Linked DNA regions of Homo sapiens: all the other regions are linked to region 1. The links are contacts of gene promoters, found by promoter capture Hi-C in blood cells and fetal thymus (Javierre and others, 2016). All regions are on one chromosome and are shown on one strand. The core of a region is centred on a gene start or on the middle of the fragment in contact, and the rest is flanking DNA. Distances in the headings are between cores, read along the strand shown.

Region 1 (4,140 bases), core at 634-3,133:
TACAGCTTCCTCTGTAATATTAGTGCTCCAGTCCTACCTTTTAGTAACTTTGGTTTTAGAAACAAGCTGTGTGTGTGTGCTGGAAAATCTACCTAACACAAACCCAACTACAGAAAACTACAAACCACGCAGTCAATTCAGCACACATATACTCGCCTCGAGAAAATCATAAATTCAGTAACGTTCTTGCTTCATGAGCACTTTCTAAATATTCACTGAAGAACTGACCAAGTACGGCTGGTTCAATAGGGAGTTAGTAGGACTGTTCAAATCTACTTTTCAATGCGGTTTTTGGAAACTGAATACCCAGAGCATCAAAGTACGATGATCATAAAGCAAAACACACAACAAATCCCTAAATTTTAAAACCCAAAAATTCCTTTAGTTTGGGATTATTTATCCACATCTACTTTCATAGCCAGAAATACTTGAGAGCTGACATTTTCGGAAACACACTCTAACTCTAGTTTTCACTAAATATCCTTCATGGGAGCAACGCCAAAATAAAATCAACCCTTCAAGTGTCTTCTGAAGAAGCACAGTGTAAGGGAAACAACAAAACTGCACGTGTTTGCTACAGGAATAGAAAGCAAGTTAAAAAAGCGGTAGGCTTTGGGATGGTGATTACACAGGTGAATTCAAAGGTCAAAAAACTCATCGCACTGTACACTTAAGGTCTATGCTTTTTTTTTTTAACATCTCAAGGAAGGGGTGAGGGTGTAGGCTCAAGGGGAAAAAAGCAATCCCAACACCTTAACAACAGGAATACACTAAAGTGAAAATGCATTTTTCTGGCGGACCACCTAAAGTGTATGATTCCCGAGATTAGTTAAGTCCTGTCCCAAATTTGAGCTTCAATAGAATGCTTCTGGCCAGCTGTGATTCGCATCTCAAAGGTTAATTCCCTTCTCTCTCCTCCTCAAGCCGACCAGCAAACGCTCACCACCCTCCACATCTGCAGGCCGGCTCGCTCCCGGCCTCACAAGCCAACGCAGCTCTCCGACCTCACTCCGAACTCCACCCCTACTTCCGGGACACCACTCCTCTCTCGCGCCAAAATCGCCTTCTCTTAAACCCTTTCTGCTCAAGCCCTCGAATTTTCCATCCCGAACAACTTCTGGGTCTGTCCCACCCCAAGCTTTCCAAACGCCAAGCCTGCCCGCCCCGCCGCCGCCTCTCCGACCCGTTCCCGCGCCCGGTCCCCAGCCCCGGACCGTCCCCGCCATTCTCCCGGCCCGCACCGTCCCGCCCCGGCCCCACGCCCTCGCCCCGCGCCCTGCTCTCCGCACGCCCCGGTCCCTCCCCGCGCGGGCACTCACATTTTTCGCTGCCGCTCGAACTCCGCTTTCTTCTCCTCCTCCTCTCGCTTCTGCTTCTCGTCCAGGCTGCTGCGCTTGCTCACCGTGCGCCCGAAGATGTCGATGCGGTCGGGCGGGGACGAGGCGCGCTCCCGGTCCCGCTCGCGCCGGGACACGGCCGTGTTGGTGGAGCGCGAACGGGACCGCGACTCCCGCCGCCGGTTCCGTTTACTTTCCCGAGATTTGGAACGCTTCCGCACGCGCTCCTTGTCCCGGGATCGCGACCGGGACCGGCTGCGCTTCTTGTTGTGCTTGCTGCTCTTGGTGTGCTTGGAGCGGGACGAGCTCCGGCTCCGAGACCGGCCCATCCTTCCGGGAGACGCTCTAACCGCTCGCCTCAGGCCCCTCACGCGGCCAGTTCCCCTCGCCTCCGCCTTCGGACGCGGGCTGGCGGTTCTACCGAGGCCGGAGGAAAGAAAGGTGTCGGCCAACGGACTTTATGCCTTTTCCCGGCGTCTACAGCTGCCACGAAGGCCGCCTCCAACGAGAAACCCGTAGCGCCAGGCGCCCCTAAGATGGCAGCTGCGGCTGCACCGGCCGCCCTTCCCACAATGCCCTGCGCGAAACGTGCCGAAGCGTGGGCCCCGCCTCCTGACGATTTTTGCCGAAGGCAGGCGAGCGCTTCGGAGCGGACTCGTTTTTTTCCGCCAGTCTTGGCGGAAGCCTGAGACGCAATAGATGGAGACTCTCCTTTTCGCCTTGGCGTACTCTTTTTTTTTTTTTCCTCCCTGGTAAGATGCCAACGCCTGTTGAATGAATTAAGCACGTTTTAGTGGGATTTAAGTCCGGCCTCGCAGAAGTTGATTGATTGCATTATTTTCTAGGAGCTGGTCTTGTGGGGCAGCCCTAAAATGTATCTCCAAGTGACCCTGCACTCATCACTTGCTGCCTTGGACTTAGTTTCCTCATTCGTAGAATGGAGACACCACACTTTCTGAAGTGCTTATGAGACTTGCAGGAGGTAAGTAGGCAGCAGGTTTTGATGAATGTAACCTAATGCTTACTATAGGGCTTAATGTGCCTTCTAAATGCTTTAATGTATTAACAAGTGCTTAATTCTTACAATTCTGAATTAAGTACTACTATTATCCACGTTTCAGAGATGAGGACCCTGAGGTCCACAGAGGTTAAATAAGGGTCACACAACCAGTAGGTGACAGAGCAGGGACGTGAACCTAGATCATATTGTGCAAAGCCCTTGCACATAACCAGCAAGCCCTCCTCAACCCTAGCCACGAAAAGCTTCGTCCCTATGTGGCACAACAAACTGTGTCATTGTTAAGACCTAAAAGGAAAAGGCAATGTTAATATTTGCAGATGACAGGAACCCTTGAAAATCTAGGTGCCTCAATTTTAAAATTGAGTGCAATAATAAAGCTTAAGTAAGTAGAAGAAAAATTAGAATTATTTGAATAAGCAAAAACATATTAAAAATGAAATAATATTTCCTCCACAATGGCAACAGAAACCATAAAATACTTAGGGATAAACTTTAACAAGTTACACAATCTTTATTATAAACCTTTACTGAAAAGGCAGTAATAAGGCCCTAGTAAATGTAAAACATGCTGTATTCTTAGGTGAGTAGTCAGTATCAAAAATACTGTCAATTCTTCCCAAGTCAAATTACAAAATTAGTGCAATTCTCATGAGAGTCCCAAATTCTCTTGGGGATATGTGTTTTAGAACTAATTAATTTTAAGTTTTATATGGAAGATCACATAATTAATTATCAAGAAAACTTGGAAACAAAGAAGAGTAGTGTATTAGTCTGTGTTGACTGCTGTAACAAAATATCATAAACTAGGCAGCTTATGAACAACAAATTTATTTCTCACAGTTCTGAAAGTTGGAAATCCAGGATCCAGGTGCTAGCCAATCTGGTCGCTGGTGAGGACCCAGAGATTCACAGATGACTCACAGAAGGCACCTACTCACAGTGCCCTCACATGATAGAAGGGGAAAGCTAGCTCTCTGAGCTCTCTTTTAGTGGCACTTCTAGGGTCTGAAAGTTTGTGTTCCCTCAGATTCATATGTTGAAACCTAATCACCAGTGCAATAGTATTAAAAGGTGGGGCTTTGGGATATTGATTAGGTCATGAGGGCTCTAACCTCATAACTGGAATTAGTGCCTATCTCAGCCCATTTCCACTGCTATAACAGAATACTTTAGACTGAGTGATTTATAAATAATAGACATTATTTCTCAGAGTTCTGAAGGCTAAGAAGTCCAAGATAAAGGTACCAGCAGAGTCAGTGTCTGATAAGAGCTTGCTATCTGCTTCCAAGATAGTGCCTTGTTTTGCTGGGTCCACAGAAGGGGACGAACACTGTGTCCTCACATGAGGGAAGGGATGGGAGGCAAAAGGGCAAAAAAAAAGGGGGGGGAACTAGGACACTCCTGTCAACCTCTTTTGTAAGGATACTATTCCCATTCAAGAGGGTGGAGCCTCATTTCTTAATCACTTCCAAAACGGCTTCAGCTCTTAATGTTATTATAGTGGATTTTAGGCTCCAACATAGGAATTCTAGAGAGACACATACATTTAAGCCATAGCAATGCCCTTATAAAAGGGGCCCAAGGAAGCTTGTTCACCCGTTCTTTACCATGTGAAGACATAGAAAAAGGTGTCATCTATGAAGCAGAGAGTGAGGCCTCACCAGACACTGAATCTGCCAGTGCCTTAATCTTGGACTCCCAGCTTCCAGAACTCTGAGCGATAAATTTCTGCTGTTTATAAATGACCCAGTCTGAGGTAGTCTTATAGTAGGCTGAATGGAC
Region 2 (4,140 bases), core at 572-3,071, 2.0 Mb before region 1:
CTCAACTATTGCTTTTTTTTTCTTCTAGAGAAATATATATAGAAAGCTTCTTTACTATCTAAAAAGAATAAAAGAGAACAATGGGTAAAGGAAGATATAAAACATCAAATTTTGTTAATATTGTAAAATATTTTTACTATAGTAAAATATATGTAGTATATATATAGATAGTATATAACTATAGTTATATATTATATATATATATAATTATAATAAAATATAGTATAATATTGTCTTGGTATAAAATACTATCCAAGTACATACCTATAACATTTAACTCTTTGCTGGTTTTTATTCTAATTAAACATCTTGCTGGATTTCTGACTTCTTGCTGTGTGCCAGCACTGCACCAAGCACTATACCTAAAGTATTTGATTTATTCCTCCCCAAACCCTAGGAAATTGGCATAATTATTACTCCCATTTTTCTGAGTGATTGTGATGTTCCATTCAAGGTCCAATGATCTTCCCTTCAGTTTGGTTTCCTGAGGACGTCACAGTAGCTATGACGGAAACTTTAGTGTGAGTATGTCTTGCCTTATGGGATCATTGCATTGCTCTATTTCATAAGCATATTTTACATGCTCTAATGAAGCTGACTTTTTAAAGATTTCTTGATGTAAAAATTTCATAAATCAATTTTTGTCTTGTGTTTTTTTCATACATTAAGCGAATGTTTATTTTAGAGTATCTACTTTCTGCTCACTTGTAAAAATAAGTGTGAAGTAGAATTAATTATGACATTTACTCACAGGGCTCTCTAAAGCTAAATCTGGCAATAACAATAAATAAAATCTGCCAAAGAAATGGAAAATAAAGAAAACATGAGACATAACCTGAATTGTGTTATATCAATCTTAAATGCTTATTAATGCTCTTCAAGGATTCTTATGATCAGAGAACTTTTCTGTGTGTGAGGAGGGAACTGAAATAGGACAAAAAGAAAAAGCCAGATTACAAAATGAAGAGGAAAAGTTCGTTGAAGAAACTTCAGGAGACAGCTCAGAGATGAGAAGATGTGGGAATCCAAACTAGAGGGAAAGTTCAGCTGAGGAGTGCAAGGAGGGTGCTTTGCCGTGTGGTTTAAAAAAAATAAATACATAAATAAAAATATGCTGAAGACTCTGGAGCCAAGGACAAGCGACACTGGAGATAAGAGATTGGGTTCAAGAATAAAGGTTGAGACACAGATGTGTGACTTCCCATTAACATAAAGGTGCTATTTCTTCAGAATCCGTCCATTGTTTTCCCAATGGAAAACAGATTAAGTACATAATCTCATCCTCCGACCTTTCAGATCAGATATCTTCTTTGTCAAGGGATTATTGTGAAAGTGAATTGGCTGATGTATGTGAAAGTGTTTTCTAAACACTGCTGCTCTTTACCCCACCAGTCTCATCTCCTTTTATTCTGGCAATGAACCCATTTTGCCCATCAAATATACCTTGCATATTTTTGGCTACGAACTTGCTGCTCAAATCCACAACCCTCTACAAAGGTCATTGGAAGCCTATGTGTAAGACATGGCTATTGCCTAAGCAAAGAGAATTCTGATTTGAGAAACAATTTGAAAAGAATTTCCATTCACCTATGATTAACTTATCTGGAACTTTCCTTTTTTGAAATCCAACTTTGCCTTGACCACTGAAGCTGGGTTTAGCTCTCCCTCCCTCATAATTTCCACGGTGCTTATCTGTTTGCATTTAACACTTGCATGGAGACTTTAGGATTCCAACCCTCATGCATATCTGACCTCCCAGACTTGAGTTTAATATTTGAAGATACTTAATCCAGTTTGTTAACTACTTTCACTAGCATCACCTCCAGGCTCTAGACTCTCTGACAATCTGTTCATTTGTTTTTTTGTCTTCCTATTCTGGAGTGAAATTTTCATAAACATAACGAGGTATTGGTTATAGTTGCTGCTAGATCTCCAGTGCCTAAGAGTGTGTCTGACACGTATTAAACACAAAAGCAACACCTGGTTGTAGAGTCAGTACTTGCTACCCCCAGGGAGCCCTGCTCACATATCCAGGAGTAGTGAGAACAAAGTGCTCTATGTTCCCACTTCTCTACGCAGTGTAGACCAGAAATGAACAGCTGGCCCAAGGGTAGGTTGGATTCACTCAACTGACAGTTTGTGTTAAGCAAAAGAGAGTTCATCAGCTAGTCAGTGATGAAAGTTGAAATTGGAAGGCCATGAGATTTTTGGAGATGGGGCGGCTCTTTGGGACACATGCAATGTCTTATTTATTTAAGACAAAAGCTGCTAGAAGAAGACAATGAGCCCATAATCAAATAGTGGCAATAGGGAGAAAGATGGCCAACTATTCCAATGAAATACTGAATTAGGAGAGATTAACTGAGCATGAGGAAAAAAATCTAGGAAAGGAAAACAGGGATCTTAATGCCGCCTAAAAGAGTACTAAAGGAGAATTCAGCAAACATGGGTTTCAGTCACAGATTCCCAAGGAAATGTTTTGGTGACCCACAGAAAGCCTCTGGTTTTTATAATTTCAACTTTTATTTTAGATTCTGGGGGTGCATATGCAGGTTTGTTACATAGATACATGGTGTGATGCTGAGGCTTGGTGTACGAATGATCCTATCCCCTGGGTAGTAAGCGTAGTACCAAATAAGAAGTTTTTCAAACCTTGCCCCCCTCCTTCCCTTCCAAATCTAGTAGTAATGGCAATAATAATGTCCATTACTGCCATCTTTATGAACATGAGTGCCCAATGTTTAGCTCCCACTTACAAGTGAGAACATGTGGTATCTGTTTTTCTGTTCTTACATTAATTTGCTTTGGATAATGGCCTCCAGCTGCATCTATGTTGCTGCAAAGGTCATGATTTCATTCTTTTTTATGGCTGCATAGTACTCCATGGTGTATATGTACCACATTTTCTTTAATCCACCACTGACAGGCAACTAAGTTGATTCCATGTCTTTGCTATTGTGAATAGTGAGAAAGCCCCATTATATTATGAAGCACTATGCTCTAGACGTCAGATGGAGATGATATCATTTGGCTTTACTTGCTCACTGTGCTTTTGTGGCTTTTATGGAAATATATGGAAAACCACTTTGAAAATTGGCAGTCATTGTACCATTATTAATATAATGTGCTTTTTGGGAAAATTGTTAAGAATACTAGGTTAATTTTTTTTTAAAATATACTTATGATTAAACAGACATTTCCCTGTAGTTCTTTCCTTTTGCAAATTCTTTTAAATCATTTATATTAAAATTAAAGTTAGCAAAACTTTATTAGAACTGCAAAAGATCTATTGCACTTCAATGTAAAGACACTGACAGATTAGGAGTGAAAATACATTTGAAAGATGTGAGCAGGATGTAGGAAAATAAGAAATACTAGTTACATTTTCTGTAGCATCTCTTTGAGGTAGGCACTTCCAAAACAAAGCTAATCTTTACAAATCATTTTGTAATGTAGAGGCATTATATCACATTTTACAAAAGAGGGCACCACCAGAACTGAAAAGTGCATGCAATTTAACAAATATTTAAATACTTACCATATTTTGACCCTGGGGGAACAGTGTTAAGTAAAACACAAAAGAAAACTGTGTTAGTAAAGCTTAATGGAGCAAGACATATAATATATGAATAATATATGTTTGACATATAAGTGGGGGAAGACATATATATATATAATCATGAATATATAAATAAGTATATAAATACATGAATGATAATATTTCAGAGTCATAGTGTCATAAAGAGTAAGCAAGAGTGACATGATAGTGTCAGAACATGGTCACTTTCTCCAGACCAGATGATCATGGAACTTTTTTCTAACTTGAGCTAAGACTTGCATGAAAAGAATAAACAATGTGAATTTCTGCATTCAGATAAATACAGCAGAAAGAGGGAACAAAATGAAATGACCTTGAGGGAGGACAAATTATCAAGCATAAAGGATCAGCAGAAGCAGTGCTGGTAGCACTCCATAAGAAAGAAGGAATGGAGTGGAGCTGACCTCAGAGATAAAGGCAGGAACCAGATCACTTAGGCCATGTAAGGAAGTTGATTTTTTTATTCTAAATCCAATGGGAAACTGTTGGAAGTTTTTCAGAAGAAAAGTAATGTGGTCTGATATTTTAAAAGCTGACTCTCT
Region 3 (4,140 bases), core at 1,194-3,693, 1.8 Mb before region 1:
GAAACATTTTCAAGGACTAATCTATAATGTCAGCCACTTTCTTATGTATATCTGCTAAATCCCATGTGTTGTGAGATTAGTCAAAAATGTCAGGTCAAACACTCCACATACAACAGCACATACTGATACCATTCAGCAACAATAGGATATAATAAGGCTCTGGGTTTAGGGCACTATATTTCACATGACTGGTTTTCTATAGGCCCCTATCTTATTGGCCCAGCATTTCAATGGAAATTGTGTATTTAAAGTATTCTTGTTTTTTAGTAATTTCTTCCCTGATCCCAAAATAAATTTTAAATAGCCCCTTGTTAAATTATCTTAGGATCAGCTTGTAACCCATCCCTCAGGTAAATATATATATATAGCTTAATGAGTATAATTTTTACTCAAGCTGTATATATATGTATATATATATACATATATGTATATATATAGTTACATATATATATGTGTGTATATATATATAGGTTTTAGTGGTTCCAATTCCAATTTTCCTTATATATCTAGAGACCAATTTGTGGTACCTGCCATGAGAGGAAAATTCTTTCAGTCTATTAGGTATGACCAAGTTATTAGAAGTATTGGTGCCCATTCACTTGGTTCCAGGTTTCTAGAGGCATAGGCAAGTGAGACGGAGTGGAGTAGTTCTTTCAGAGGGATAGGAGCCAGCAAGGGTCTCTGGGCTTGGAAATATATTTTACACTTTCCATCAATTCCTGGTGAAATGGTGAGCTGTTCAGACCCTCACAGTGTATTAGCTATCCTTATGGAATTTTACCACTATGTGAGCTGTTCCCTTCATTGCAAAAGGGGATGTGTGAATGCCTTGATTTTGATACTTAGCTGCAGTGTTACTCCTGGACCTGTTCATCCAGGTACAGTGTTTCTTTTGTGCAATTTAACATAGGGTTCTGGAATGAGAGGTATGCCTCCCATATTAGAGAACAATATTATTTCACATAAACAACATTAAGACTGATTAGTCACAGGTGGCCAATAAGCAATGTCAATATTTTTACTGGTGTAAATAGACTCCCTCTTTTGGTGTCTCGAATTATCTGAGAGTGCCACTCCCGGAAAACTAGAATATGGTTGCAATTACTGCTCTAAAGTAGGGCTGGCTTTCTATATTACCATGTTTCTACCATAGGATATATACTGACTGAATAAAAATTTTTACTAAACTCTATTACAATTGAATGATAGATCCCTTTACTCACCACATGTGCCACTAGATTCTCCATTCCTCCACTTGGAAGGTTCTAGTGCTGGAGCCATAAGTTTGTGAAGAGAAGAGAGAAAAGAAAACAGTTCAAGTTTTCTCCAAATTACCTCATAAGATGAGCTTCAAATGTCTACTGCCCATGGTGTTTGTGTGCTTAAAATATTAAGCAATAACTATTCAGGACTCATAGCCTTTAGAGTGACAGGAGAGGCAGCTCTGACTACTCTTTCTGCCTGGACTGTTAACGCCTTGAAGAGTAAGGTGCACTGAATGTCAGTCTTTGAACCAGTCAATCAAATTTCCTAGTCAACACTACCGATGCTCTTGAGTGAGGGGATGATGTCACTCTCCTCTCCTTGGTTTCCTAAGATAATTCTGGAAAGACAAAACAAAATAGCATCTGCCGTTTTGTTTCCGGTGCTACAAGAAGTTAATTAGTGGAAGAGTAAGGTTAGAAGCAGAAGGAAGGTGGCTTCCCTGAGCCAGCCTGATCTCTTCTTGCCCTACTTTCATTTGGGTACTTCTGAGCAACATATTGGGCAGCTAGAGTTATATGTATCCAGATGTTAACTTACCTCAATACACAGATAATACCTGTGTATACCTACATATGCAATCCTAATTCATTGTCCCCAGGGCTGTGTCCTTTAATCTCTCAATTGGGGAGATCAGATCTCTTTTTATTCTTCCTCCTGTGGTTGATTGCAGAGAGGAGTTGCTAATCATGCCAGTTCTTTTTTCCCTGGATTTGGTGGCAAATAAAGCTTTGCTAAATGGCTCCTACACTTCCATTAATATCTCATTGAATCCACTATTGCCTGATACTCTGGATCTAGAACACTCTCCACTGCCACCACCTCTTGTCTCATGGATCACAAATCTGGAGCTCAAATGGACATGTTCACACCTTCACGGGGAAGCACTTTGTTACATTCAACCAATTTATCTAAGTTTCTGTGGGCAAGTTAGAAATATTGTAGTTACTTCCTGTGTGGAAAAGCTGTTTCAGAATACGTAAAACAAATCCAACATAGAGTTCCTTCACCACACCATTCCAGCAGCACCTACTTAATAAAGCTGGGCACGGTAGCTCATGCCTATAATCCCAGCACTTTGGGTGGCCAAGGCTGGCAGATCACCTGAGGTCAGGAGTTGAAGATCAGCCTGGCCAACAGGGCAAAACTCCGTCTCTACTAAAAATACAAAAATTAGCCAGGCGTGGTGCCAGGCTCCTGCAGTCCCAGCTACTCAGGAGGCTGAGGTAGGAGAGTTGCTTGAACCCAGGAGGTGGAGGTTGCAGTGAGCTGAGATCGTGCCACTGCACCCCAGCCTGGGCAACAGAGTGAGACTCCATCTTGCAAAAAAAAAAAAAAAAAAAAAAAAAAAAAAAAAAAAAAAAAAAGTAGAGGCTGATTCTAGCCTTACAATTCCTTTTCCCTGACTCTATCTTTTGAAGGTTTCCTTGGTTGTAAATGCTGATTGCCTGTGCAGTACTTCTAAGAAGCCTAGTCTTTAAAAACCCATAGCTTTGTTGTATCCTTCCTGCTGCACAGGGTAATAAGGACGGTGGAAATGCCACACAATGAGACTACATTTTGCCCAAATCTAAATGTCATGGGCAGAGAAGCATGATTTCTGGTAGGAAGCAATGGTAGCTAGAGTTCTACAAGCTTTATTAAATTATCTGCCTACATTCTTTACTCCTGACTGCCAAGATCCTATAGACAGTAAATAGCTTTTTAAGTCCTGATTGAAAATACGTAACAATGAGCCTGCTCAGATGTCTGAGTGAATTTGCTCATACTTCTGTCAAAGAATGGCATATTCTCATGACAGCTACCCCATTGTTCTCCTTGCCTTACTCCTTTTAAGACAATCAGTACATTTCGTGTAGGGAAGCACGGCCTTTCTAGCTTGCTTATTTAAGGACACGCCTTGTGACCTCTGTGGGGCGTGTCAAGGTATTAGTTGGCAAATTACATGGTAAGCTAAAGGCAAGCCATTTCTGTGAACTTTCGGCCATTCTTTTGTATCTCTAAAATACACCACATCAGATTTTATCAGGTAAGCTTAGACATGCCTCTTAATACCCTAGGTCATGTCTGCTGAAAGTCAGGCAAGTCAGCAAGTTTCAGCCCCGTTTCCCAGGGAGCAGTATAAATAAAGATCCATCTATGCCTTCTTGGGATAGAGATATCCCAGATATCTGGTAACTGGACTACTAAGATTCCAGCCATTGTACTCATGCTCTGGGGTATCTGTTAACATTCCACCTGTCGCAGGAACATGGCTGCTGTGTGTGCCAATGCTACTACCTGTGAGAGTGGTAGACTGTTCTATTTCGGACTACAACTTCTGCTTTTCTTCTTACCGCAAGGCCTTCAGTGGAGTTCAGGAGAACAAATCCCCAAAGGCTGAGTGACAAGTATTCTTTACATTTCCAGCTCTTAACCTGAGTGGGCTAGGATTGTGACTACTCTGGTTGTACTATTGACCACTGATTCCTGAACCCAGCTAAATTTATATTCAGTTACCTGTTGTTACTCGAAGCACAGTTGGATTGGAAAAACATCCTAAACTCCCAGTAAACTGCTTTTCAAATAAACCACTACTCTAAAAGCCAAGTGCTATTGATATGGTTTGGATATTCATCCCCTCCAAACCTCAGGTTGAAATGTAATTCCCAGTGTTGGAGGTGGGGACTGGTGGGAGGTGTTTTAGTCATGGAAGTGGATGCCTCATAGCTTGGTATTCTCCTCACAATAGTGAGTGAGTTCTCGTGAGATCTGGCTCTTTAAGGGTGTTTGGCACCTCCCCTGCCATTGCTCCCGCTCTTGCCATGTGAGATGGCTGCTCCTCTTTCACCTGCCCCCATGATTGGAAGTTTCCTGGGCCCTCACCAAAAGCAGACG
Region 4 (4,140 bases), core at 439-2,938, 1.8 Mb before region 1:
GGCCCAGTAAGACAGCACCTTTCACTTAGATTTTCCTCTCGCATGCCTCGATTTGGAAAATCCCTTATGAAAAAAGTAGCTAAATGTGCCAGTCAAGGAACTTAAGCCTTTGTTCATTGCTCCGTGATGGAGCCAGAGACAAAAGCCTTCTTTCAGTAACTTAGAGTCGATGCTTTAAAATACAGCAATGTACTTCTCCTAAACCAGCCTCTGCAAACAGAAACCTTGCACTGGGCTCCACAGACCATAGCTCCAATGCTCCACCCTATCATTCCTTTCTCTGTCCCACTGAGACTTTTATATTTTATTTTACTTTTTTTATTTTATTTTTTTGATACAGGGTCTCACTCTGTCACCAAGGCTAGAGTGCAGTGGCGTGATCTGGGCTCACTGCAAGTTCCACCTCCCAGGTTCAAGTGATTCTCCCACCTCAGCCTCCCAAGTAACTGGCACTTACAGGTGCCTGCCACCATGCACAGCTAACTTTTGTATTGTTTGGTAGAGATGGGGTTTCACCATGTTGGCCAGGCTAGTCTCGAACTCCTGACCTCAAGTGATCTGCCCATTTCGGCTTCCCAAAGTACTGTGATTACAGGTGTGAGCCACCACACCTGGCCAGGACTTTTATATTTTAAATTTGCTTTTTTCTGTACAGTGAATGGAGCATCACGAAGCTCAATGTGTATCATGTTGAGTAAAACGGAGATGAGGAGAATTAGGCGGATCTACTCAATATCTCTTGGTACCTTTCTGTATAAGAACACATCCCCAGGCAACTACTTGAGTACATTTTCCAAATGTTCTGGTAGCTATGAGTGGTATAAGTAGTCTGAACAATAGGGATAAACCAAGAGAATGTACACTTCTCACTATTTGCTACTGTGTAGTCAGATTACTCAAAGCTTCATGTGCCATGTCCAATCATGAGATGATCTTGGGAGTGGAAATTATGCATTAAAAAACTGACATGGTTGGAGAAGCCGAGGTCTCTGCCACTCCACACTGCATCCATACCTCTGGTATGGCAACTTCAGAACTAGGTTCATTTGATAAAGGAAACTTCTGTCTTGTTCAAAATAGTGGGTATTTTTTTAATTATTATTATTTTTATGCTACTCATAGCCACATCAAAATCTAAATTTTACATTCTTTAATTCAGATGCTATATGATGATTTCTTTGTAATCCTACATTATTCAACTGTTATATTTACGAGGACCTAGATACAGAGCAACTGGGAAAAAAAAAGTTTATAATCATGACTTTATTTTTGATTCTTTCTCTGAAAGCAATGGGTATTCATACCAGGGATCCCAGAAGCCTATGTAGTAGAGATTTTTAATAATGTCAGTGTTTTAATGAGAGAAAAGGCAATGTTAAAATGAGTGAGGCAATGTTAAAAGTCTAGGTGACATGCTTATGTTAGAAGACATGTTAAAAAATGAGCACATAAAGTTGCAAGTCAGATAATGATTATTTTAGGCACCTTTGTAAGCCTGTAAAAATGTAGTGTGATTGATATTTAGCTCATTTAAAAAATCAAGTAAATATATGCTCCTTTTGTTTCAATGTACTGTTTCAGTACATATTTTTTCTTATATTGAAGCCATTTAATTACATCCCTTCTAAAACACTTTAAGTGATTATATTTGAAATAATTTGCCTGATCTCCAAATGGCTGAAACACCTTGGTGAATTGGCAATGCAACAGATTATTTGGTCACACTGCAAATTGATTAGATTTGAGGACACTCCATTTACATAGTTAAAACGACTTTCCCCTATTTCAGTTGAAAAAAAAAAAAACAGGTTTTACTATGAAGGACATCAGGTAAATGCAATTAAATTCTCACTAAGCATTTGCTTTTAGGTGAAATCGCCCTGGTTTCTACAATCACTTGTATATGTATTTTTAGTTTGGTTTATAAAAAAGTTATGTAAATTTCCTATTTTTTTAAATCTTATTGAGATACATACTTTTCAGTTGACTCATGTTGCAGCACAGTTAGCATCTGCTCAAATTACTAGGAGGACATTAAATAAAAAGTGAGCATGTGTGCATCTTTAAGACATTAGAAATGACCAGCTGTTTTATATTCTCAGAGCCCTTTCAATAACAAAAAGCTCCCAAGTAGCTTCCAGTTAAGGGGTTTTGGAGAAATAGGTGGGGGGGCGGGGGACTGGCAGGCTGGGCTTGCAAACAAGAAGCTATAATAGTATCACTCAGCAGTCCCACATTTCCTGTGTCAAGCTGATGACTGTGGCCCTAGCAGGTGGGCATGCCAAAGGCCAAAATCCATGTCTAGGAAGGCAGAAACAATCTACAGACCCCGTTCAAATATCCCTTTACAATATAAAAGAAATTACATGTTCACTCTAATGCAATATAGAAAACTGTGGTTCCTCTTGTCCATTCAGGCTATATTATGAATCATCTTGAATACACATAGAAAAAATCCTGTTGTGTAGCAAAAGAAAGCTTTTACACTTTTCTTCTCCAACAGCTGGTAATGAGAATACTTAATTAAACTCTTGTAATATGATACCCCTGCCAACATCACTTGCTAAAGCACACTCTAAAAACGTCATTTATTCGTTCAATCCCAAAGTGCACAAGACCAATGCTGCGCAGTTCTTGTTCTCAACACAAATTTTCGACAAATATTGACTCATGTGATAGACCCAATCAGGGTATTTCTCGATGCAAGTGAGTCCTCTGAAGATGGCTCAGTTACAAATGAGTATGAAGGTGCCAGTGTCCATGTCTCTGCCCTAAGGCACTGTCAAATGGACTTCGCTGTTTCACCCAGGGGCACACACTTGCTCCCAGCTATGACAATCAAGTTCTCATCCCCAGATTTAAGAGATGTGGAATGGAGAGAGAGAAAGCCTGGTGTCTCTTATGAGGAGTCTCAGAAACGGCAGAATTTCCAAGGCAAAATCCACACATTCCTACTGCTGATTTTCTAGTGTTTTTTTGGTTTCTTCAGTAGCTTTCTGCTTCACTGAGTTCTTATTTTCATTCCATGAGCTACTGCTGTGCCACTCCCGCCAAAATATTAGTAAGAGTTATTTTTCTGTTTTTTGCAATCAAGAAAGCATTACTAATATGTAAATTAGTATATACTATACCTCTTGCCATTATTGTGAGCCACTATCCCTATCTCTAATGCTTAGGTTCTTATGAATCTCCACATTTTTAAAAAATAATCTATACCACCTCGGGCGACAACACATATTACCTAGATAAATCTTTAAATTGTTTAAAATCAACCTCCTTTAAACTTCAAGATAATATCTTCTTCAAATAAGAAGAATGGAAGGGAATGCAGAATTGATAGGATATAGATTATAAGAGGTTGGCAAAAAAAGGAGATGTGCATCAAATGTAATCATATAAGGCATTTAAGCACAGAAATATTAAAATGGAATCAAAATACTTGAAGATGAAATTATACATAATCAGATTTATATTTCTCAGTGGCAAACAGTCATCAGGGGAGCAGTGGTCAATGTGAAACAGGGTAGGAATATGTTGCGGTAACCCAGACGAGATAGTGGGTGGCTGGAATGGCTGGGTGGGTGGAATGGCTGGGTGGCTGGAATGGCTGAGTGGGTGGCTGAAATGGCTGGGTGGCTGAAATGGCTGGGTGGGTGGAATGGCTGGGTGGCTGGAATGGCTGGGTTGCTGGAATGGCTGGGTTGGTGGCTGGAATGGCTGAGTGGGTGGCTGAAATGGCTGACTGGCTGGAATGGCTGGGTGGTGGAAATGGCTGTGTGGGGGAAATGGCTGACTGGGTGAAATGGCTGACTGGGTGGAATGGCTGGGTGGCTGGAATAGCTGGGTGGCTGGAATGGCTGGGTGGCGGAAATGGCTGGGTGGGTAGCTGAAATGGCTGACTGGGTGGAATGGCTGGGTGGCTGGAATGGCTGGGTGGCTGGAATGGCTGGCTGGGTGGCTGGAATGGCTGACTGGGTGGAATGGCTGGGTGGCTGGAATGGCTGTGTGGGTGGAATGGCTGGGTGGAGGAAATGGCTGGGTGGCTGGAATGGCTGGGTGGGTGGCTGAAATGGCTGACTGGGTGGAAATGGCGGGGTGGCTGGAATGGCTGAGTGGTGGAAATGGCTGGGTGGCTGGAAT
Region 5 (4,140 bases), core at 990-3,489, 1.7 Mb before region 1:
GGCTGAGACGTGTGGATCACGAGGTCAGGAGATCAAGACCATCCTGGCTAACACGGTGAAACCCCATCTCTACTAAAAAAAAAAAAAAAAAAAAAAAGAATAGCCAGGCATGGTGGCGGGTGTCTGTAGTCCCAGCTACTCAGGAGGCTGAGGCAGGAGAATGGTGTGAACCCAGGAGTTGGAGCTTGCAGTGAGCAGAGATCATGCCATGCACTCCAGCCTGGGCAACAGAGCAAGACTCTGTCTCAAAAAAAAAAAAAAAAAAAAATCCAATGACAAAATCATTTTTTTTCTGCCAAAGTGTTCACAAAACTGCAATCTGGTTTTAAGGTTTCCAAATTGTACCAAAGATAATTTAAAGCATTACGATGCATAAAAACCTTCTAATTAAGAAAACCCTGGGTGCTAGGTCATTTACTTTCACTAATTGAACATGTTCATTATATTAAATTCCATTTGCAATTTATCGATGTAAGTAGTATGACAAGTATTCATAGGAAACCCTTGTACTGTATCTCAGTATTGTTGAGGGGATTGTTTTATTTCATTTTTCTTTTATTTGGGTACAAATATTGCTCATTAATTTCACATAAATAGCTTATGTCATTTCTTTTAGTTGGTTTAAGACACTGACTCTTGGTGTAACACTAGTCCTGTTTCTATTGCTACCAAAAACAAATGACTAATAGCCAGGGTTTTGTTCCTCTTGTCCTTCTGCCAAATTCTTGACATAATTTGGCTAAATGTAATTTTCTCTGACACCTGTTCTAGTCGCCTTCTCATTTTTTCCATTTACATCTGATTTCCTCGTCACCCTCCCTCTCCTTTTCACTCATTCCTCAATTGATTTGGTTCCCTAGCACAGTCAAGAATGCGTTATACTTGTTTTTAAAAATCCCCTAAAATTATTTATCTGTAGATTTTGATGTACGTTCCAGAAGGTTGAATGCCCGAGTCATATACATGTAGTCCAATAGAATTAACAGCTGTAAAACCTATTAGAGTTAGTACCTTATCTATTTCTTGGCATTGGCAAAGTAGTAGTTGGTCAGGAATAATCTGATTTGATAGAAGTCAAAAGTGTGGAAAGAGAACCAAACACAGGCTAATTGCTGGGGAGAGTGCATCCAGTATGAAGAGCCATGGAAACCAGAGTCAAGACTCGGGTTCTGACTACTGCCTAGGCAATCAGCGCAGCATGCACAGCAGGGGAAGGGTGGACACCTGTGCAGAAGTTTGCTGATGCATTGGACCACAATGGCTATGGCGATGCCAACATGTCCCTTCTATCAGCCACGTAGTGTGGTCACTAAGCTGTGATTGTAGAAACTGCTCACAGCTGGATGTTGCCCAAATACTCATTTTCCATAATGTAAACAATTTATTTAAAACTACTATAATTCATGAGACTCATAAACATATATACTCTTACTCCTTTACAGCCCAGAAAAATACAAACACACATTCATACAGCTTCTGGTTGAAATTGAGACACATCTATACATATATGTGTTTTAATTTCCCCATATATATATATATATATATATATATATATATATATACACACACACACACATATGGGGGAAATCAAGCAAATTTATACTACCAATATAACAACAGCAAAAAGAAACATTAACCTTTGAGTAAGTTGTAGTGAAGCCTGTGCATGTTCCTTTTCCACAACAAGACATACTTTAGCAAAAATCTGGATCCTGCATTAGAGTTGGTCTTGGCATAGAAGTATACATTTTGTAATCCCACTTTAAGCCTTGGGTGTTCTGTATCCCTAATTGAGGGAAGGAACTTTAGCATATTTTTTAACTTAGTCCAGTTGAATGTGTTTGCTGCTACTCAACCATTAGTCTGCTAAGTCTTCAATTTCAGACAGGAATTTTATTAATGGCTCCTTATTAACACCTCTGACAACTTCATAAATAAAAATTATAACCTGAAAAAAATTCAACTTTAGACCATAAGAAATAACTAGCTATTGGAAATGGAAAACAAGTTTCACTGTTTTAACTAACAGAAGCTTCTCAGTACACAGGAATAGCATGCCTCAAATCTAAGACAAATTTTGAAATGAGCATTTATTCTTTATCTGAATGGTATTTTCCTTAAGTGTCATTTTTCAGTAGCCCAAACAGAAATAGCTCATTCTCTGAACTGTTTATCTATAAAGTTTTCCATATTTGTGTCTGTAAAATTAACTCGGTTTTTCTTATAACAATGAAAACACGGTCTAATTTACCATGCCAAAAGTTACTGTAAAGATTACAAAAAAACATGTTGCAGAAAGATGACTTAGGGTTAGTTTATCATGTAATGAAGATAAGAAGACCAAGGACAGTTTCTATTTGGCAGGCTGTAAGTAGAGACATATTTAGCAAAAACAGTTAAACAGAAGAAGTAAGTTAGAACCAGGAAGGTAAGTTCTATACCTCTAAAAGCTTTTTATCCAGATGAGTTAGATGCATTTAATAATTATATTTCTGAAAAACAGTTACAACATTTATTAAGATACATTAGGTTGGTTATTATTTTGTATCCTTGTCTGAGACTTCCCATTTTAATAAATATTAAGATGGTGTGTCTCTATAAATTTAGAAAAATCATAATTATAATAATAAATGCATTCTAGGTGAGCAATGTGCCCTCCTTTCTCATACAGTATGGGTCTGGATACAAAGTCCTTTGCAACAACCTGGCTGGGAATCGACGAAAACGGCCATAGGGCAGAGGAGTAAGATGAGCGTACCAGCCTCTCCAGGATGCCTGTAGCCCATCTTCCTTCTCTCCCAAGAAAACAGCTCCACGTCCTATTGCTAAGCTGTAGCATATGCACGCTGGGGCCCAGGGATTCTCAGAATCGCAGAAGATACAAAAATTTAACCTCCTAATTTAGGTTAGGAATGAGGAATGAAGGACATTTTACTTATCTTACTTCTCAGGAGAAGATAATGAAAAATCATCTCTACATTCTGAACTTTTTAAAATTTATTTTACTGCCCCATGAAATTATCAGAGGACGTTACATTCTTTGCGAGCTTTTCCAATTCATATCACGTTTTCTTTCCTATTTTTCTGTCATTTATGAGAACAAGTATGGTGTCAGCACACTCATGCATGCATGCATTCTTGGATTTATTCAATTATTTATTCAGAATAATTTAGTTGTCACCACTGTGCCCCAAGCCGAGTGATTGATCTTAGAAATCAGTGGTGAAAAATGTCCCTTTTCCACTCAATTGATAGAACAAGAAAGATAATTATATAACTAACTAGATGATAATAGACATGAGAGTGAAGCATCCTAGGAACAGAGAGATGATGGCAATTAAATCAGCCTGACAGTGGGCTTCTTGAGACTTGCTATTGCTTCCAGTAAGGTTTGGTTTCATCAGAGTGAACAGGCAACCTACAGAATGGGAGAAAATTTTTGCAATCTACCCATCTGACAAGGGGCTAATATCCAGAATCTACAAAGAACTTAAACAAATTTACAAGAAAAAAACAAACAACTCCATCAAAAAGTGGGCAAAGGACATGAACAGACACTTCTCAAAAGAAGACATTTATGCAGCCAAAAAACACATGAAAAAATGCTCACCATCACTGGCCATCAGAGAAATGCAAACCAAAACCACAATGAGATACCATCTCACACCAGTTAGAATGGCAATCATTAAAAAGTCAGGAAACAACAGGTGCTGGAGAGGATGTGGAGAAATAGGAACACTTTTACACTGTTGGTGGGACTGTAAACTAGTTCAACCATTGTGGAAGTCAGTGTGGCAATTCCTCAGGGATCTAGAACTAGAAATACCATTTGAGCCAGCCATCCCATTACTGGGTATATAGCCAAAGGACTATAAATCATGCTGCTATAAAGACACATGCACACGTATGTTTATTGCGGCTCTATTCACAATAGCAAAGACTTGGAACCAACCCAAATGTCCATCAATGATAGGCTGGATTAAGACAATGTGGCACATATACACCATGGAATACTACGTAGCCATAAAAAATGATGAGTTCATGTCCTTTGCAGGGACATGGATGAAACTGGAAACCATCATTCTCAGCAAACTATCACAAGGACAGAAAATGAAACACTGCATGTTCTCACTCATAGGT
Region 6 (4,140 bases), core at 878-3,377, 1.7 Mb before region 1:
GCAATGGATAATGGAAAACTTGCTTCAATTTTTAAAGTATTTAAATTATTTCTTCATCAAATAGAAAAACTGGCCCATTGAATTTTATTATTTTTATTTCCTTTTAAGATGGAGATAACAATGAATTCCGAATAGTAAAATGATAGGTGATAGAGAAAAGGCAAAAAAAAAAAAAAAGATTAAATCATTAAATAATAAGATAGCTGAATATCTATAAATTAATATCAGAAGTAGAACTGGAATAAAACTTCACACTATGTCCATGTAAGTGTTTACAAAATGCCTCACTAAAAGAACAGACCTGATTTCTGAAGGATTTATTGTGCAAAGTAACTTTGTTAACAAGTACAATAAATTAAGTCTAATTTTCCCCTTGAGTTTTTATCCATTTAAATCTACCAACATAATTGCTCCTAGTCCTATTATATATTTGAATATAATTTATTTCTAAAATATCTGAAAAATATTTTAAATAAAGAATTGGGCTTTTATATGGTTATCTGGCTAGTAATAATCACAAGTATTTATGTAAAGAACAATGCAGAAAGCTTATAGCAACTGCGTGCAGTGAGCTTATGGACCTGGAACCTGGGGGTGTATTAGTTTATGTCCACGATTCTGCTAACTCACTTTGAACCTAAGGCTGACATGGAAGATGCAGGATACCTAGAGAAATCTAAATTTCATATAAACAACAAATCATGTTGTATTAGTTTGTTCTCACACTACTATAAAGAACTACCTGAGACTGGATAATTTATCAAGGAAACAGGTTTAATTGACTCATAGTTGTGCAGGGCTGGGGAGGCATCAGGAAACTTACAATCATGGTGGAAGGGAAAGCAAACACGTTCTTCTTCACGCGGCGTGATAGAGGAGGCGGGCAGGGAAGTGCTGGGAAGGGAAGGACTTGGTCCCTGGTGAGGGCTCCTCCCCAGCCTATGCCCACGGACCTAGGTGAGGACAGTCACTCGTGCCTTCATGCCCAAATGTTGCATTTCCCAAGACTACCCTGGCCCACCATGCTCCCATCCTGTGCCTATAAAAACCTCAAGAACCTAGCAGGCAGCCACACAAGCGGCTGGACGTGGGGAGGAGTGGATCAGTGGAAGAAGACACAAGTGGCTGGACGTCAGGAGAATGTCCAGGGGAGCACGCTGGCAGAAGAGCCCACTGACAGACGCCAGCACATAGGCAGGCCATTTACTGGTGGAATTATGCAGTTGTTGGGGGGCAGGTGTCAGAGAAGTGTCAGGCGCTTGGCTGCCTGACTCCATGGGAAAACCATCTCCCTTCTGGGTTTCCCATCTTCTGAGAGCTACTTCCACTTAATAAAACCTTGCACTCATCCCCCAAGCCCACCCGTGTTCTGATTCTTCCAGTACACCAAGGCAAGAACCCCGGGATACAGAAAGCCGTCTGTCCTTGCAACAAAGTAGAGGGTCTAATTAAGCTGGTAAACACAAGCTGCCTACGGACGGCTGAACTAAAAGAGCACCCTGTAGCACACACCCACTGGGGCCTCAGCTATCAACATTCACCTGTAGACACTGCTGTGGGGTCAGAGCCCCACAGTCTGCCCATCTGTATGCTCCCCTGGAGGTTTGAGCAGCGGGGCACTGAAGAAGCAAGCCACACACACACTGTGAGGGAGACAAAGGAACTTTTCCTGTTGCAGCAGCAGGAAAGAGAAGCACCAAGCAAAGTGGGAAAAGCCCCTTATAAGACCAAGACCATCAGATCTTGTGAGAACTCACTCACTATCATGAGAACAGCATGGTGGTGACTACCCCCATGATTCAATTACTTCCCACCAGATCCCTCCCATGACATATGGGGAGTATCAGAACTACAATTCAAGGTGCGATTTGGGTGGGGACACAGCCAAACCATATCACATGTTTTACTATAAATATGCCATATGTAAGATTTAGGACATCACTCCAAAACATGATTAACTAAACATTCTATATTTTTGTTGGTTAAATCTGATCTATGGAAGCCTTATTCTTTTTTGGTTAGTCCATCAGAGATGTTCTTGAGAATAAAGACATTATAGCCTTATCTTCTATATAGCCTTGTCTTGTCCAATTAATCTTAAATCATGCATGCCTAGATTCTCTGAGCATTAAAATTTACGTGGTCCCTGTTACACAAATTCTTCTAAATGAATCATAGCAGCATCACCATAACAAGAGTTTTCATCATACGTAACATTCAAAATTATGCAGTTTTGGAATAGTTGTTCTTATTAGAAAGAGATACTCTTATCTGTACATGTGAGTTTTTTTTTCTACAAGATATCATTTCCAATGTCTTTCCATTTTAACTCAGTGTTCAAGGAGGCAAAACAGAATTAGAGACAAGACAGAAGCATGTTCTCATGTCATGTTCTCATGGAGAGTGGCTATCTTTCTGAATTGGAATCACCTGATAACCCACTCAACTAGCTCATTGACTAGACGATTAACAGCTGACAGGTTAGTGATGTTTAGTAAATGCAGTAAATGTGATTGGAAGTGATGAGGTAGGAGTTACTCTATAAAACAGAATGACAGAGGTTTTGTCTATAAAACATTAGACTATGTAGACTATTAACTCTATGGAAATCTAATAAGCCATGTTTACTTTATTTAACCTATCCCAAGTAATTTTAGGCTGCTTTAGCCATTATGTGGTTTCTCCAAGAATCATTGTGAAAAGTGATCGCATTTTATTTCTACTGACTTTGATGGTTTTGTTCTGCATTTCTTACTTAAAATGCTGCCTAAAGATAGGAAAAGATACCTTCTACAGTATAATTATCTGGGATGTCTTACATAAATGGTCTTAAAATAGATCTCTGGTGTGACAATCTTCTAATGCTCTCTTTTCAGGTTCTCATAGAACATGCTATACGGAAATTTTCTTTTTATAGTTAATTATGCTTTCATGACAAAAGCCAAAGAGATAGCTAAAAACAAGCAGAATTCCTTATGAATTCTATGAATTATGCAGAATAAGTTTCTCTCTGTTAAAGTAAAATTTGCTTTAGCAAATATACTTGTGCTAAAATATCTTTTACTTATGTCTTATTTTCTAAGTATGATCTGAAATTTTCTCTGTAGATTTGAGAAATTATCAGCTCTAATTTTTCTAGTCATGCTTATTCAATGGTCACTCTGTTTTTAACCATTACCATACAGTATTTGGCACATAATCTAGTCATTTCTGAATTTAATTTCCAGAGAGGGGATGCACATAGTGTGAAGGACATCTTTCTTTTTATGAAGGTGTATTTAAGGAGCAAACAGCAAACTGTACTTAGAGTCTGATAATACTGGGTTTCAACCATAGCTTTCACATTTATAATCCTAAGGGATTTACCTAACCTTTCTGAGGTTCAGTTTTCTCATTCATAAAATGAAACAAAATAGATAATTCAAATATTTAATTTAAAGATTAAAGTCTTTAAAATATCAACGGGAGTGACTGATACTCAGTGAGTGCAGCAGTGATTATATCTGAGCCTCAAGTCCCCTGTGGGACAGGCTTTTTTATGGGTATCTCTCTAATTTTTCAGAAAACAAATGAAAATGAATCAAATGGAAATAATTTTAAAAAACTAAAAATTCAGCAATCACATATGGAACTGTTACTGAATGTTCTATAATATGCCAGATTTCAGATGATTTGTGTCCTTTTCTCTCTGAGTGAGTGGGTGTTGAGAAGCTTGGGGACTATCCTACAGCAGAACACCCAGCTTCGCTGAATTGAGAGGCCCTGTCCAATGCGAATGATTCATTCCACTTTCTCTTTCTAGAAACATCTACCATTTGGGGGGCTGCCCATATTTTCAGCCAATTTTCTCTCTCAGCCATACACCTGGAAGACTTGATACACCTATCAGCTCAGCACAGATATTAGAGCAGGTGATTTTAATATTTCTTCTACTTTAGAGCAAGTGACTTAAAAGGTAAGCCATTCTGGAATCCCGTTTAACTCTCGGCTACCATAAGTCAAGCAACATAGATGTGATTTCAGGGAGTTAGAACTAAAATTGCACATTGTTTCTGGTGTTTTTCTCATTTTAATAATTTAGATATTCTCCAAGGTGGCTACTCCTTGATTATACAGAACGAACAGATATTCCCAGCTTCA
Region 7 (4,140 bases), core at 683-3,182, 1.7 Mb after region 1:
CAATCGAAGTCAATTTTGCTGTAGATTTTAGTCAACATTTAAGTAAAATGAATTACTAGTATTACTACCCAAGGTATCGAAACCAAAAAAAAGTCCGTCCCCATTTAACAACTCTTATTTATGTTTACTATGTGATAGTAACTGGATAGAAAGAGATGAGTATATTGGCTTTGTGTGTTGATATTGGATTTTTCACTGATCTCTTTTGACGGGAGGGGGTTCGTGGATCAATACTTATTTGTATGCATGCTTAGGGAAATCACTCGTCTTTGACTAAAATATCAAATTTTATTTTACTGTGTAAGATTTCTTGATTGCCGATTTAGTGTTAATGTCATGATATCCTACCTAAGACATCAGCTGCTCAATTAAATAATCGTTAATAGAGGCCCACTATGCATCAGGCACTGCTGCGTACAGAAAATGTAGAGTTGAATAGGACGAGGTCTCTGTCATCGAGGAACTCACAGCCTGTGTAAGCAGGTTAATTACGCTGTAATAGTAACTTCTGCCACGTAAGTTTGCACAAACTACAGAATGTGGAATGGGTGGCAGGAGGGAATAGGGGTCCAAGGAAAGCTTTCTAGAGGATCTACTACCTGAGTTTGGTTTTAACAGAGAAAGAGTGCATTGCTCTGATTACTTCCTGTGTTCAGATACGGTACCTCTAGGGAATCATATCCATTATTTGATCTAGGACTAATAGGGCTTCTAGTTGTCCTTACTTTCACATACTCTGCTATAGTACATAATTAAGTAATTTAAATTTTGTCTCATAGAAGTAGCTGCACTTAACACACTATTACATTTTATCTCAACAGTAGTTCAATTTAATCTTTCATCCTCCTTTTACATACGAGGAAATATATATTTAGAGAGGCTAAGTGAGTTGGCAAAAGCTACCTATCTCTTAACAGACCATGACTCAAAACACTGTCTCCTTTCCATTGCACCACACTGCCTCCCACTGACAGTTAACTTGGAATGATTAAAGCAAGCCAGGTACCTACAGGTAGCCCTTGGCACACTGCCCTCTTCTTGGGCACATCAAAGACCTCTTGGCATGTGGATAAGAGGGTTTACTAACCAAATTGCCCTGGGCTAACAATATAACTTAGTGATAGGTGCAGGAAACTGTTGGATCTAACATTTTCCCATGATCTCTTCTCATAACTTATCTCAGGGGAATCTATTTCTGTTTCTCTGTTTAATGTATTACCCAGATTCTGAAATCTTTCTAATCCTTGTTTAGTTGCCCCAGGAAAGTCTTAAGACCTTTAAATAGCCTTTTTTCGTGTGGACTTAAAAGATGCTCTAGTTCTTCTAAGTAAGATATTTTTCCTCAAATGACAGATTTTGTAATACATTATTATATTTTATGTTTCTGTTTCACATGGTGTGAACTCCTACAACAGTATATTCTGCTGAAATCCCTTGCAAAGATGTAGTATTTCCAGTACAGGGACTACATGCATTTATGAGCTAGCCTGAGAATCTAGATACTTCTAGTAAGGCTTCTAGTTGTACTTACTTTCACATACTCAATGTTATATAACACTGGTTTTATACAAAACAAATATTCTAAGTTTCATCCATCTAGTTTATAGGTAAAGTTTTAGAACATTGCCCATTTATAAATTGGAAACTTTGTGAATTTCATTATCAGTCTAACATCACTACAGTTTTAGGCTAGTGGATTTGTTTTAAACATTTCAGATATTTATAATCTCAGAACAAATTGTGGTTGGCTTCCATAGTAACAATAATCTCTCATTTTACTTCTGCCAGAGTTGACTCTATTTGCCAAGATTTTCAAGCATGAAAAAGCTACTAAGTAGCTGCCTGGTATAATTTTTGAGCTATCTGCTCATACAGATTTAAATCCTAGTTAAAGATGCTGTCTGAACCATCCAGTTATTATCCAGCATCTCCATAGGCAGTTACTGTTCATTTGTCCCATAGGACTATTAATACACACTTTTTCATTATTGATGGCATGTGGGTAACCATTAGGGAAATAGATAATTCATTCTGTGGTGTCTCCAACACCTTGATAGCAGCTATTTGTGTTTCCATTTCAGCTGTGCAGCTGGCATGGTTTCTTAACTTCCCAATGCTTAACAGAAGAGGAGAGAGATTGATATAAGAATACTGAATCTGAGTTCCACATTACTTCACATGTGATTGGAAGCTGTGATTCACCCAGAGTAATTAATGAGCCCATGGGGTGTGGGGTCCTCATTCTCTGCTGGGATGTGGATGTCGGCATTGACACACGAACTCCCTTTCCACTTTTTACAGTCTTCACTTGAACCTGCACATTTTTTTTAAATGTATGAACAGTTTTTATTTTTAAACAAGCTGTTCCCAAAATTATCAATCTAGGATGGACTTAAAGATCTTTAAAGAAATAATAGTGCCTTTATGACTTAGGACTTTTTAATTGTATTTGAAATTGTTTAGCCTTTTGCCAAATTGTTTTTCGGAAATTCATTGTAATTCACTATGGGTAATGCACTTTTTTGTATTTTTAAAAGACCATTTGCTGGTGGCAGAATCCGTAACTCGATATACAATATGCAAAACAATGTACACTTTTTTTTTTTTTTGAGACATAGTCTCACTGTGTCACCCAGGTTGGAGTGCAGTGGCACGATCTCAGCTCCCTGCAACCTCGACTCCTGGGTTCAAGTGATTCTCATGCCTCAGTCTCCCTAGTAGCTGGGATTACAGGCACGCGCCACCATGCCCGGCTAATTTTTTGTAATTTTTAGTAGAGACGGTGTTTTACCATGTTGCCCGGACTAGTCTCAAACTCCTGAGCTCAGGCAATCCACCTGTCTTGGCTTCCTAAAGCGCTAGGATTACACGCATGAGCCACCATGCCTGGCCCAATGTACACTTTTTAATTAAAAATAATTAGAATAACTAGAATTTAATTTGTAGGGCAGTTCTGACCTTCATTAAAATACAATTTTTATTGTAAAATGTTATCTATGATACAATAGATTTGTCTAATTTATTCTCCTACTAACCTTACGGCAATAATTACAATGTATTTACTCCTATACTTTTGAGTTTCAGTTCTTGATATATATAAGTTTTTATTTATTTTTAGTTTTTGGAGAAAATATTACTGGGTAAAAACCTTAAATATATTTATATATGTTATAATGCAGAAAGGATTTAAAAAAATGTAATATATCTTTCTTAATTTGAAGAAGGCAAGTCTCTGGGGCATAAGGCAATACAGTTATATGGTTAAATAGTATGGAACCGTGGTTCTCAAGCTTTTTGGTCTCAGACCGTTTACATTTTAGAAATGTAAAGATCCCAAAGATTTTTTTGTATGTATGTGGATTATATAGATATTTATTGTGTTAGAAATTAAAACTGGAAGTTTATAAAGTGTATAAATTAAAATTGGAAAACTGGAAGTTTATAAAGTGTATAAATTAAAATTGGAAAACTGGAAGTTTTAATTCATTTAAAAATAGCAGTAGTAAGTTCATTACATACTCACATAAATAAAATTTTATATAAAACAATTGTAATTACAAAAAATAGAGGTGTGGGATTATATTTTTGTAATTATCTTTAATGTCTGCCTCATAGAAGACAGGCAGATTATTAGGCTCTTAAAGTGAAACATGAAGAAAGTCAGGCTCACACAAATTTGTAGTTGTAAAGGGAAGAGTATTGTAGTAGAGAATTGTGGGTACTCGTTGGTACGACTCCATCACCCAACAGGAGGCACTTCCTTAAAGGTCAGTTATATTGTGCCATCTGAAACCTACATCAGAGAAATTGTTGTCTCTTGTTACATCAAAATCTGTTGGTTTGTAGTGAATTTTTTACTCACGTTTGCTTGATTTTGTGACACCATTCATTGGTCATTTGGAATATATTGGTTTATGGAGTTATGCAGATTTTTCCAAATGGTGACATGTTTAATATTAATAGATTACCACAGTGCCATCAAAAAGGTCCCTTAAGTGTCTAGGAGCTATTGGCAACCTCATTCATTTTCTAGTAAATATCTGCCAAACCTCTAAGTCTGAACAACCATAGTTTGTCAGTTGTCTTTTTAAATAAAAATGTTGTTACCTGAACAAAGCAGCTAGTTCAGCTCACAATTCA

The links. The method cuts DNA at HindIII sites, captures the fragments that hold promoters and counts their contacts. A CHiCAGO score of 5 or more calls a contact.
Region 2: a contact is called between a fragment that was not itself captured here and the fragment with the promoter of ARGLU1 in region 1, in 1 of 17 cell types (fetal thymus). The highest score is 7.2, in fetal thymus.
Region 3: a fragment that was not itself captured here is called in contact with the fragment with the promoter of ARGLU1 in region 1 in 1 of 17 cell types (fetal thymus); the score reaches 8.0 in fetal thymus.
Region 4: a fragment that was not itself captured here is called in contact with the fragment with the promoter of ARGLU1 in region 1 in 4 of 17 cell types (fetal thymus, naive CD8 T cells, monocytes and 1 more); the score reaches 10.8 in fetal thymus.
Region 5: a contact is called between a fragment that was not itself captured here and the fragment with the promoter of ARGLU1 in region 1, in 1 of 17 cell types (fetal thymus). The highest score is 7.8, in fetal thymus.
Region 6: a fragment that was not itself captured here is called in contact with the fragment with the promoter of ARGLU1 in region 1 in 1 of 17 cell types (fetal thymus); the score reaches 6.0 in fetal thymus.
Region 7: a fragment that was not itself captured here is called in contact with the fragment with the promoter of ARGLU1 in region 1 in 2 of 17 cell types (total CD4 T cells and naive CD8 T cells); the score reaches 6.7 in total CD4 T cells.

The regions. Positions count from the first base shown.
Region 1 is chr13:106,566,254-106,570,393 of GRCh38, forward strand. ARGLU1 (arginine and glutamate rich 1) reads right to left here and starts at 1,884. Exons shown (of 4, transcript NM_018011.4): 1 at 1,320-1,884. The coding sequence starts at 1,666. RefSeq lists a silencer at 1,046-1,345 and enhancers at 1,240-2,150, 1,826-1,945, 1,956-2,025. The HindIII fragment of the contact is 1,462 bases long and covers 1,137-2,598 here.
Region 2 is chr13:104,579,533-104,583,672 of GRCh38, forward strand. No RefSeq gene overlaps it. Among named protein-coding and RNA genes, the nearest start is that of DAOA, 880 kb to the right of the region's middle. The HindIII fragment of the contact is 3,554 bases long and covers 45-3,598 here.
Region 3 is chr13:104,759,485-104,763,624 of GRCh38, forward strand. LOC107984606 (a long non-coding RNA gene) reads right to left here. Exons shown (of 5, transcript XR_007063859.1): 4 at 1,224-1,271. Among named protein-coding and RNA genes, the nearest start is that of DAOA, 700 kb to the right of the region's middle. The HindIII fragment of the contact is 906 bases long and covers 1,991-2,896 here.
Region 4 is chr13:104,777,395-104,781,534 of GRCh38, forward strand. All of the region lies in intron 3 of LOC107984606 (a long non-coding RNA gene), which reads right to left. Among named protein-coding and RNA genes, the nearest start is that of DAOA, 690 kb to the right of the region's middle. The HindIII fragment of the contact is 1,576 bases long and covers 901-2,476 here.
Region 5 is chr13:104,816,191-104,820,330 of GRCh38, forward strand. The region is part of intron 3 of LOC107984606 (a long non-coding RNA gene); the gene reads right to left. Among named protein-coding and RNA genes, the nearest start is that of DAOA, 650 kb to the right of the region's middle. The HindIII fragment of the contact is 418 bases long and covers 2,031-2,448 here.
Region 6 is chr13:104,865,259-104,869,398 of GRCh38, forward strand. All of the region lies in intron 1 of LOC107984608 (a long non-coding RNA gene), which reads left to right. It overlaps LOC105370342 (a long non-coding RNA gene), which reads left to right. Exons shown (of 3, transcript XR_931691.3): 2 at 2,335-2,480; 3 at 3,803-3,906. Among named protein-coding and RNA genes, the nearest start is that of DAOA, 600 kb to the right of the region's middle. The HindIII fragment of the contact is 3,163 bases long and covers 547-3,709 here.
Region 7 is chr13:108,219,248-108,223,387 of GRCh38, forward strand. The region is part of intron 1 of ABHD13 (abhydrolase domain containing 13); the gene reads left to right. Among named protein-coding and RNA genes, the nearest start is that of ABHD13, 2.9 kb to the left of the region's middle. The HindIII fragment of the contact is 2,711 bases long and covers 578-3,288 here.